2 separate regions of the Homo sapiens genome follow, and region 2 is linked to region 1. The links are contacts of gene promoters, found by promoter capture Hi-C in human tissues and cell types (Jung and others, 2019). All regions are on one chromosome and are shown on one strand. Each heading gives the region's core, a stretch centred on a gene start or on the middle of the fragment in contact. The rest is flanking DNA. Distances are from core to core; before and after follow the strand shown. Region 1 holds the start of RNF26 (ring finger protein 26). Region 2 overlaps PHLDB1 (pleckstrin homology like domain family B member 1).

Evidence for each region. The method cuts DNA at HindIII sites, captures the fragments that hold promoters and counts their contacts. A contact is called where the count stands out against the background at its distance.
Region 2: a contact is called between a fragment that was not itself captured here and the fragment with the promoter of RNF26 in region 1, in 1 of the 25 tissues and cell types used here (dorsolateral prefrontal cortex).

Annotation. Positions count from the first base shown.
Region 1 is chr11:119,332,082-119,336,822 of GRCh38, forward strand. It overlaps RNF26 (ring finger protein 26), which reads left to right and starts at 2,446. Exons shown (of 1, transcript NM_032015.5): 1 at 2,446-4,741. The coding sequence starts at 3,042. The coding sequence ends at 4,343. RefSeq lists an enhancer at 2,088-2,979. The HindIII fragment of the contact is 13,723 bases long and covers 1-4,700 here.
Region 2 is chr11:118,621,540-118,626,280 of GRCh38, forward strand. It overlaps PHLDB1 (pleckstrin homology like domain family B member 1), which reads left to right. Exons shown (of 23, transcript NM_001144758.3): 5 at 3,395-3,520. Among named protein-coding and RNA genes, the nearest start is that of PHLDB1, 16 kb to the left of the region's middle. The HindIII fragment of the contact is 8,405 bases long and covers 1-4,741 here.

The DNA.
Region 1 (4,741 bases), core at 1,196-3,695:
TTGACTTTGGGACCCTGTAAATGATTTGCATAATTAAAAAACAAAATAAAAAAAACCAACCTAAAACATGGCAATAATATAGATTTTACTGAATGCTTGATGAGGAGACGATGGGGAGGGCCGTAATATACACAATAGCACAAAACAAAACCCCTGAATTAGACATTCTTTTCTGGTTTTTCCAATCTCTTAATCCTCAGTCCTTCATAGTCTCTAAAAATCCCTTCTATTGTCCCAGCTAGAATCTTACGCTGAGCAAAACAAAACTAAACAAAAAAACCCCTGAAGTTAGCACAACAGCAGAAACCAGCTGCCACCAGAGCAGGCCTCCAGAGGGCTTTACACTACATCTTCCATTAGAAAATACTGCAAGGATAGGGCTTCTAGGTGTTCAGCTTTCTCAATATCTGGCTTATTTTCTTCTCAATCCCTGGGACTAACATTGTCAAACAATTTGAACTGCCTCCCCAAAGCCAGTTGGAGTCTTTGTCCCTGCCCAAAGCAGGATTACCTGCTAGGTTTCCTGGGAGTCAAGGGTTGTGGCTCATTAAAGAGGGCTTTGGATTAGTGAGTCTCAAATCACTCAAAGGGGAGGTCTTGGTCCTAAACGAATGGAAATTCTCTCTTAGAGGATCCTGCCAACTCTGAGAAGGACTTTACATGCTTCTTGGTGTGGAAAACTGGCCAGTTAATTGCACGCAGTGCAGGCACAGCACGTTTGCCAAGTTTGACTTTGGACATATTGTGTAGGAAGCACCAGTGGGATACCCATGAACCGTTCATGTCCAGGAAGCAGCTGGAGCCTGAAGTTTGCAGGACAGGTTCAGGCTGAAGACACAAATTCAGAAATCATCGTGTATACAGGAGAGGAGGCTATGATGGAAACAGAAAGAATATAGGAAAGGGTAATGATTCTGAGGCCAAGGGTGGAGGAAGTGGTGTCAAGTGCTGGAGGAAGATTGATTAATAACAACATAGTGTTCACTGGACAAATAAGATCCCTTAAGAGGAGATGGTACGGGCGATGGGATCAACTGTCTTGAAAGGGAGGTGGGCACATTCTCCAAGATTTGACACTGGCGGGAGGATGCGAGTAGGAAAATAAAAACATCAGCAACACATCACAACACAACAAACCATAACCTGGCCAGGGCCTGAGAGCAGGGAGAGAGAAAGGGTAGGAAGAAGCCAGAGGAGTTTCAGCGACTGCAGTCCTTCCTCTGCACTATAGCGTACCCCTACCACGATCCCAAGGCCTCAGTAAAGGTTTGCTGCACACCTCAGCTTCTTATCAGTGATGCTTTGGAGAATGAAGGACTCTGAGGCAGTGTTCAGGGCAGACTGAAGGAGGACGGACACTTTCAGGAGCCCAGGAGTGGAGATGGAGAATTCAACTCAAGTAGGAAATTCAGCAAAGGTGACCAGGGGAAAGATAAGTCCACTAGGAGTCTGCTAAGCATCCTTGGAGTTAGTAGAAAACGCCAGGATTCCCAATATATTTGGGATGGGGTTTCAAATATATTTTGACTATTGTTTGAGTATTAAAGAAAAGGGCAGGGCCGGGCTTGGTGGCTCACGCCTGTAATCTCAGCACTTTGGGAGGCCGAGGCGGGTGGATCACGAGGTTCAGGAGTTCGAGGCCAGCCTGGCCAACATGGTGAAACCTCGTCTCTACTAAAAATACAAAAATTAGCCGGGTGAGGTGGTGGGCACCTGTACTACCCGGGAGGCTGAGGCAGGAGAATCGCTTGAACCCGGGAGGCAGAGGTTGCAGTGAGCCGAGATCGCGCCACTGCACTCTAGGGTAGGAAGGCCCAGGGTAGGAAGCTGAGCGGTTTCTAAATCTGTAGCCCCTTTTTCTCAATGACAATGAAGTAATCTTCCGAGATGTTGAAAAACCTGGTGAGGAAAGTTTGGAATAGCAGTTTGGGAATCCCCTGTAATAATCTGCTTTCCCTTGTGAACAGCAGGCACTGTCTTAAAATTTTTTTGTATCCTCAATGCACTGTAGGAGTTCAATAAATGATAGAATAGATGAATAAATAGAAGAGAATGAGGAGACGGATCTGGGCAGGCTGCGAAGGCGGTGCTATTCCAAAGCCCAGCCCAGAGGCAGTGACCTCCGACCCAAGCCAAAAAAAAAACCTCGCGTTCAGAGGCCGGGAGAAAGAACAGCTCCCAAATTGAGGGGAGTCCAAGACCCTGCTCTTTTAGAGGGTGGGGCTAGGAGAGCGTATTTCGACGCTGCCCGCCAACGAACCAATCCCCGCCTAAAGGGGGAGGGGATTTAATCTGTCGCCTCTCCTTCCCTTTGGAAAGTAAATACGTTCGGGCGCCATTCAAACGGACCAATGAGTGATCGACGTTTTTGTGGTTGGCCTTCACCGATTGGCTGGAGTTTGTCGTCCCTCCCTCCTCGTCACGCCTCTGGCTCCACCCCTTTGCACACAAGATGGCGGCGCCCAGCGGAGTAGGGGCTGCGCTTGGGGTTTGCTGAAGCTGGCTGCCTCTCCCACTCCCCTTTTGGGTGCAAAGCGCCGCTAGCGGGAAGACGGGGGCCGGGCGGGGACAGGGGCACCTGCGTAGCTGGACTGAGAGCCTGCGCCCAGCTTACATCGACCCCACCCGGCCCCGGCCCGACCCGACGCGACCCGATCCGATCCGATCCCATTCCATCCGTTCCTCGTCTCCTCCCGGTCTGACCCGTTGCCCGGCCGTGGTTCGCCACACCAGGCATCCAAAGCTGAGGTCGCTCCTACGGCCTGGGCTCGCCTTCGCTTTAGAGATGTTTGGCCTCTTCCCTCCCAAACAGCCCATCTTCAAAACCTGGACTCTTGGACTGGCACCTGGCCACCTTTCCCTCTACCAAGACTCCACTTCCGTCTTACCCACTTCTTCCTCAGATTCTTGGTACCCCCTGGGTTGGAGACTGCTCATTTTCCTTCCAAATTAATCCCAGACCCCCTAAAATATTGACAACCTTGACAACCCCCCAACCGAGGAGCCAGACTTTGTTTTGGACTAACTTCCATAGCCCTATCATGGAGGCAGTGTACCTGGTAGTGAATGGGTTGGGCCTGGTGCTGGACGTGCTGACCTTGGTGTTGGACCTCAACTTCCTGCTGGTGTCCTCCCTCCTGGCTTCCCTGGCCTGGCTCCTGGCCTTCGTCTACAACCTGCCGCACACGGTACTGACTAGTCTTCTGCACTTGGGCCGCGGAGTCTTGCTTTCATTGCTGGCCTTGATCGAAGCCGTGGTCCGGTTCACATGTGGGGGCTTGCAGGCCTTGTGTACTCTGCTGTATAGCTGCTGCTCTGGCCTAGAGAGCCTAAAGCTCCTGGGGCACCTGGCCTCTCATGGGGCACTGCGGAGCAGGGAGATACTGCACCGGGGCGTCCTCAATGTGGTCTCCAGTGGCCATGCTTTGCTGCGCCAGGCCTGTGACATCTGTGCCATTGCCATGAGCCTGGTGGCTTATGTGATCAACAGCCTGGTCAACATCTGCCTCATCGGCACTCAGAACCTCTTTTCCCTGGTGCTGGCCCTGTGGGATGCAGTGACCGGGCCTCTGTGGAGGATGACGGACGTAGTGGCTGCCTTCCTAGCCCACATTTCCAGCAGTGCTGTGGCCATGGCCATCCTCCTTTGGACACCCTGCCAACTAGCCCTGGAGCTGCTGGCCTCAGCTGCCCGCCTCCTGGCCAGCTTTGTGCTTGTCAATCTCACTGGCTTGGTGTTGCTAGCTTGTGTGCTGGCAGTGACGGTGACTGTGTTGCATCCGGACTTCACCCTGAGGCTGGCTACCCAGGCACTCAGCCAGCTCCATGCCCGGCCATCCTACCACCGTCTTCGAGAGGATGTCATGCGGCTCTCTCGCCTAGCACTGGGCTCAGAGGCCTGGCGCCGAGTCTGGAGCCGCAGTCTGCAGCTGGCGAGTTGGCCAAACCGGGGAGGGGCACCTGGAGCTCCCCAGGGTGACCCTATGAGGGTATTCTCAGTTAGGACCCGGAGACAGGACACTCTTCCTGAAGCGGGGCGCAGATCAGAGGCAGAAGAGGAGGAGGCCAGGACCATCAGAGTGACACCTGTCAGGGGCCGAGAGAGGCTCAATGAGGAGGAGCCTCCAGGTGGGCAAGACCCTTGGAAATTGCTGAAGGAGCAAGAGGAGCGGAAGAAGTGTGTCATCTGCCAGGACCAGAGCAAGACAGTGTTGCTCCTGCCCTGCCGGCATCTGTGCCTGTGCCAGGCCTGCACTGAAATCCTGATGCGCCACCCCGTCTACCACCGCAATTGCCCGCTCTGCCGCCGGGGCATCCTGCAGACCCTCAATGTCTACCTCTGAAGCCTCCTTCCCTGCCTGCCCACCCCTCCATGCTCCACGCAGGCACTCACGCTAGGACAGCATTAACACCTCATCTCCGGGTCCTGGTCTGAATCCCCTCCTACCCCTGTGGCCATCCTGCCATACATCCAGGACATTGAGTTGGAAGACTATGATCTGGGTGGGGGCAGGATAACATGGCTTCTCTTTACCCAGTGGGTCCCTTCGATGCTGAGGGTGGTGAGTATGTCACTATGCAAGGGCCCTGAGACTATTTGCTGTGGGCTCTCCTCCAGCCTGCCCAGGGCCCACCCAGATGCCTCTGGGGTTACCCCTGTCTGCTTCTGGTTTTTCTGTTGGAGATCTATAGGTCCTTTTCCTGCCTCCTTCACATTTCCTCCCCAGCTTTTGCGGCCACA
Region 2 (4,741 bases), core at 1,332-3,831, 710 kb before region 1:
TGAGTCCTCAGCCCCGGGCCAGCCACAGTCCCCAAGCAGCCAAGCTTGGAGAAGCTCAGACTGGGAGGGGCGTCTTGAGGAGGGTGGGCGGGAGGAGGTGCATGGGGTCCTCTGACCTTCTTTGGGAGCTTGAGGCTGAGAGACTCGATTGTGTGTGTTCCCTGAACATTTCTAAATGGGGATTCTGGGCTTGGGGGCACTTCTCAGCCGGTAGACCTTATCTTCTCCAGCGCTCCGGCAGTCCCCTCCTTAGGACCCACCTCCCTCAGATGGGGTTAAAGAGTCCTGGTTAGAATGAGGGGAGTCTACCTTATGGCCAAGGAGGGTCTCTGATAGGAAGGACCAAGGCCCTTCCTCCCATATTCCCTTCACTCGGTCTCCCTTTGGACAATCCATTCTATTTGTGTGACCAGGAGGGCAGTGACAGTAGCTCTGAGAGTGTGTGAGCATGTACGCCCATAAGTCTGTTGTGTTACTATGAGTGTGTATGAGTGTGAGCCTGTTTGTGTTGGTGTTTCTCCTCTGCATCTCTCACAGATAGGATTCACCCTCTCCTTCGCCCAGTTTTTCCCCTCCAGATGTGCAGCTCCTCCACCCACCTGCACACAGCTGGACCCTGATCCCCCCTGGGCATGGGGGACACTGATCATGACTTTGGCAGGATGGGCAGGGATTCCTGGGCTCCCTGAAAGGGCTGGCCTTTGCGGGTTGGGGTGGGAGTGGGCAGAGAGGAGGCTTCTTCCCAGAAACAGGCTGGCCAGACCCCTGGGGGCTGTAGGGGCCAGCATCAGGGCAATGCCTGAAGCTTCTGCATGCAAATAGAAAGTTAATTTGGGCAGGAGCTGGGCTGCTCTCAGTCCTGCTGCCCTCCTGCCCGCTCTATTAATACGGATCCAGCTCTGCTGCCTGGCATCACTATTTATAGCCCAGAGGCAGCATGGCCACACCCCCTTATGCCGGGGAGGGTGAAGGGCTGAGGAGGGGGCAGAAAACACACAGCTATAGGGGCCCAGGCAGAGGATCCCTAGATGCCTACATCCTACTTGGGTGGGCCTGGGACTGCTGGGCTGGAATCCACTCAGACTCCCTGCCTCCTTCCCAGCCTGGACTGTGTGGTCAGGCTCCTGATCCCTACCACCCACGACCCTGGGTTGAGTGGCTCTGTCTAGACCCTGTGAACTCATCACCAGTAGGCTTGTTAAATGGCTAAATGGAGGGGGAGGGGCTTGACAGGGCTCTTTCTGAAACAGCTGTGGTTGTAATTAGGTGGACAGTGTGGTTGGCTATTATTTATTCCAGTTTTGAATACTCTGGGATCCTCTTCTCTGATTGGTGACTTGGCAGGGAAGGCTCCCTCTCTCTCCTTTAGAATTGTTGGTGTCTGGCTGCCTGGGAGGGCCTTTGTGTATGCCAGGATAGTGAGTGGCTTTATCCACTATGGTTATCTGCCATGGGCTTCTCAGCCTACTAAACCCCCAACCCAAGCAATGCCCAGGATCCCAGGAACAGGCTCCTGAGCTTCTCAGTAAGGGACCTGCCAAGGTACTCACGTGGCCTGGGATGCCTCTTGCCCTTGCGGCCTGCCTGAGCTGAACTGTCTCAGCGTCCAGGAATGTAGACTTCTCTGCCAGTCTTAGCTCAGACTGGCGTGAAGCTTGGGGTGCCAAGTGGCACCAGATTGGGTAGACAGGAGGCTGAGGCCGGGGGCCAGGGGTGTGGACAAATTGGAAGGATTGGTGGTAGAGAGCAACAGGGCTCTGGCTTCTCCCAACATAGTATCTTCTGCAGTAGCCCTCCAGCACCTGGTGTGGCTGGGAGGTGGAGTTCTGCTAGCTACAGTTAGGCGCCTGTGGGCACATCTGCCACTGTGCACACTCCAGGTGCCCCTGGCTACATTTTCCAGCTCCCACATGCCCTCCCCCTCCAGGTACTCACACTTCCCGGGCAGGACTGGGCTTGTGTCTACTGCCTGGGAATGTGCTTGGCTGAGGCCGGGCCTGGTGGCCTAGTCTTGGCCTGATGCCAGGGGAGACCAGGGAGCATGCAGAGGGTGCTTAGTCAGAAAGAAAGGTGGTGGTCGCTCCCTAGACTTGCAGTGCACAGCTCTCCTAAGGTCACAAAACAAGAAAGAGTGGGAGCAAATTCAGGACCCCCCCGGTTCATCTGACTGATCCATGGTTTTTCCCCTTGTTCCCTATCTCAGTTTTTTTTTGTGACCCTGGAAGTTGCTGCCTCTCAGACTGACTCTTCTACCCTTCTACCCAAGGGGCAGATAGATGGATCATGGATACAGGCTGGGGTTGGGGGACAGGTGTGTCTGTGTTCTCTGAACATTTGTGTGTGTGTGTGTGTGTGTGTGTGTGTGTGTGTGTGTGTGTGAGACGGAGTTTCGCTCTGTTGCCCAGGCTGGAGTGCAGTGGTGTGATCTCGGCTCACTGCAGCCTCTGCCTCCTGGATTCAAGCAATTCTCTTGCCTCAGCCTCCCAAGTAGCTAGGACTACAGGCGCACGCCACCACCCCCAGCTAAGTTTTGTATTTTGAGTAGAGACGGAGTTTCACCATGTTGGCCAGGCTGGTCTCGAACTGCTGACCTCAGGTGATCCGCCCGCCTTGGCCTCCCAAAATGCTGGAATTACAGGTGTGAGCCACCATGCCTGGCCTCTCTGAATATATTTTTACAGAGTACTTTCACATACACTGTCTTATTAACCCTACAAGATCAGTGGTATTGTCCCCATTTTTCTGATTAAGAGAACTAGATTCAGAGGTGAAGTTACTTCACCCAGAGATCTCACAGCTAGTAAGAAGAGGAATTAGGACGAGGACTCAGATCTTGGGACTCACTCACCAGTGCTTTTTCTACTCTGTCTTGTGCTGCGGAGCCCTGGAGGTGCCCATCTCAAGCACAGGCAAGGTCAGGTGTGGACTGTGTGGACTCTGAGAGCAGATGAGGATGGGTCTTTAGAGCTGAGGTGAGCCTGCTAGTGCTGTGAGGTGGGGTAACTTCAGTCCTGCCTGCCCTTCCAAGTGTTTTCTCTCTTTCTTCCTTTCTTTTTTTTTTTTTTTTTTTTTTTTTTTTGAGACAGAGTTTAGCTCTTGTCATGTAGGCTGGAGTGCAGTGGCATGATCTCAGCTCACTGCAACCTCCGCTTCCTGGGTTCAAGCTATTCTCTGATCTCAGTCTCCTGAGTAGCTGGGATTATGGGATTACAGGCGTCCACCACCACACCCGGCTAATTTTTGTATTTTTAGTAGAGACGGGACTTCACCACATTGGCCAGGCTGGTCTCCAACTCCCGACCTCAGGTGATCCACCCTCCTCCGCCTCCAAAAGTGTTGGGATTACAGGTGTGAGCCACCACACCTGGTCTTCAAGTGTTTGCTTTCTCTGCAGGCTGCATGTTGTGCCTGGGTCAGTCCACCTTCCTTCGCTTTAACCACCCGGCTGAAGCCAAGTGGATGAAAAGCATGATTCCAGCAGGGGGCCGAGCCCCTGGGCCCCCCTACAGCCCTGTTCCTGGTAGGTACCGACGGGGGCAGGGTGCTGGGTTGATGGTGTTCCTGCAGCAGTCCTCCTCCTTGCTCACTTCAGCCACACTTGGAGTGTTAGGGCAAGACAATACCTAAGGTCTGGGCTCACTGCCACCTGCCATGGGCGGGTGGAGAATGCCAGGCAGTGGGGCCACTGAGAGCTAACCAAGGCAGTGCTGCTTAGCTAAAATTGGGAAATTATGTGCCTCGAGGGATGGCAAGCTCTGCCAGCTTGTACCCCACTGCCCTGGAGGATGCCACTCAGTGTCTGGAACTCTGGCCCACTTGTGTCACCACAGGGAGCCTCACCCTCTAGGGTACCCTGAGGGGCAGAAGGAAGCATTAGGTTGAACTCCCTGTAAGCTGTGGTGGGGATCATGTCCTTGGGCCTCGCCCAACCCTCACTCCATGCCCTGCCCGCTGATGACTCAGTGGAGCAGCTGTATTTTGTGTGTGAATTATTGATCCCCAGAAGAGAATTGGTGATTGTTCTGGGGAACCAACACAGGCCCCCTCAGCCCAGCTGCACAGGGGGGCAGGAGGGGTGCAGACCAGGAGGCTATTATGGGTTTACCATCTCAGACTTTGCACTGGCATTTAGATGGCTATGGGGTGACAGGTGCTGGGACAGATGGACATGGATGTCAGGTACACCTAGTGGGGTGGTATCAGCAGCCTAAGTGGATAGCCTGGGGACCTGAAGAAAGGTGAGTGATCACTGGGATTATCAGTATCCATGGCATCCCCTCTGACTATATCCCACACAGTCTCCATAATTTTGGACCCAAACTCAGTCTTGCAAAGGCTTTCCCTTCTCTTTTCCCTACCCTCGATCTTTTCCAGTCCTCTGGGGGCTCAGAAGCCTGGGTTCCCAGTCTACTCCCTAGTTAATTTTACCCTGCCCCCACCCCAGCCTTGTCATGTCACTCCCTTAGCTGTTTGGGGCAGTGGTTCCAGGGACTCCTATATGGTTGACTAGTGCTGGGGCATGGCAAAAGCAGGCTCTTGCTGGCATGGCTTAATGGGATAATTGGAGGCACTGAGCTTCACCTCCTTGCTGGCAGCCTGGCTTCCAGGAACCAGCCATTAGCACTAGCTCCCTCCCCTGCCTCTGATTGGACGAAGTGGTGCAGCACACACCCCTCACCCAGCCCTGCAGGCTTTTTTCTTTTTCTTTTTTTTTTTTTACCCCTGGGCCTCTGGTTCCTAC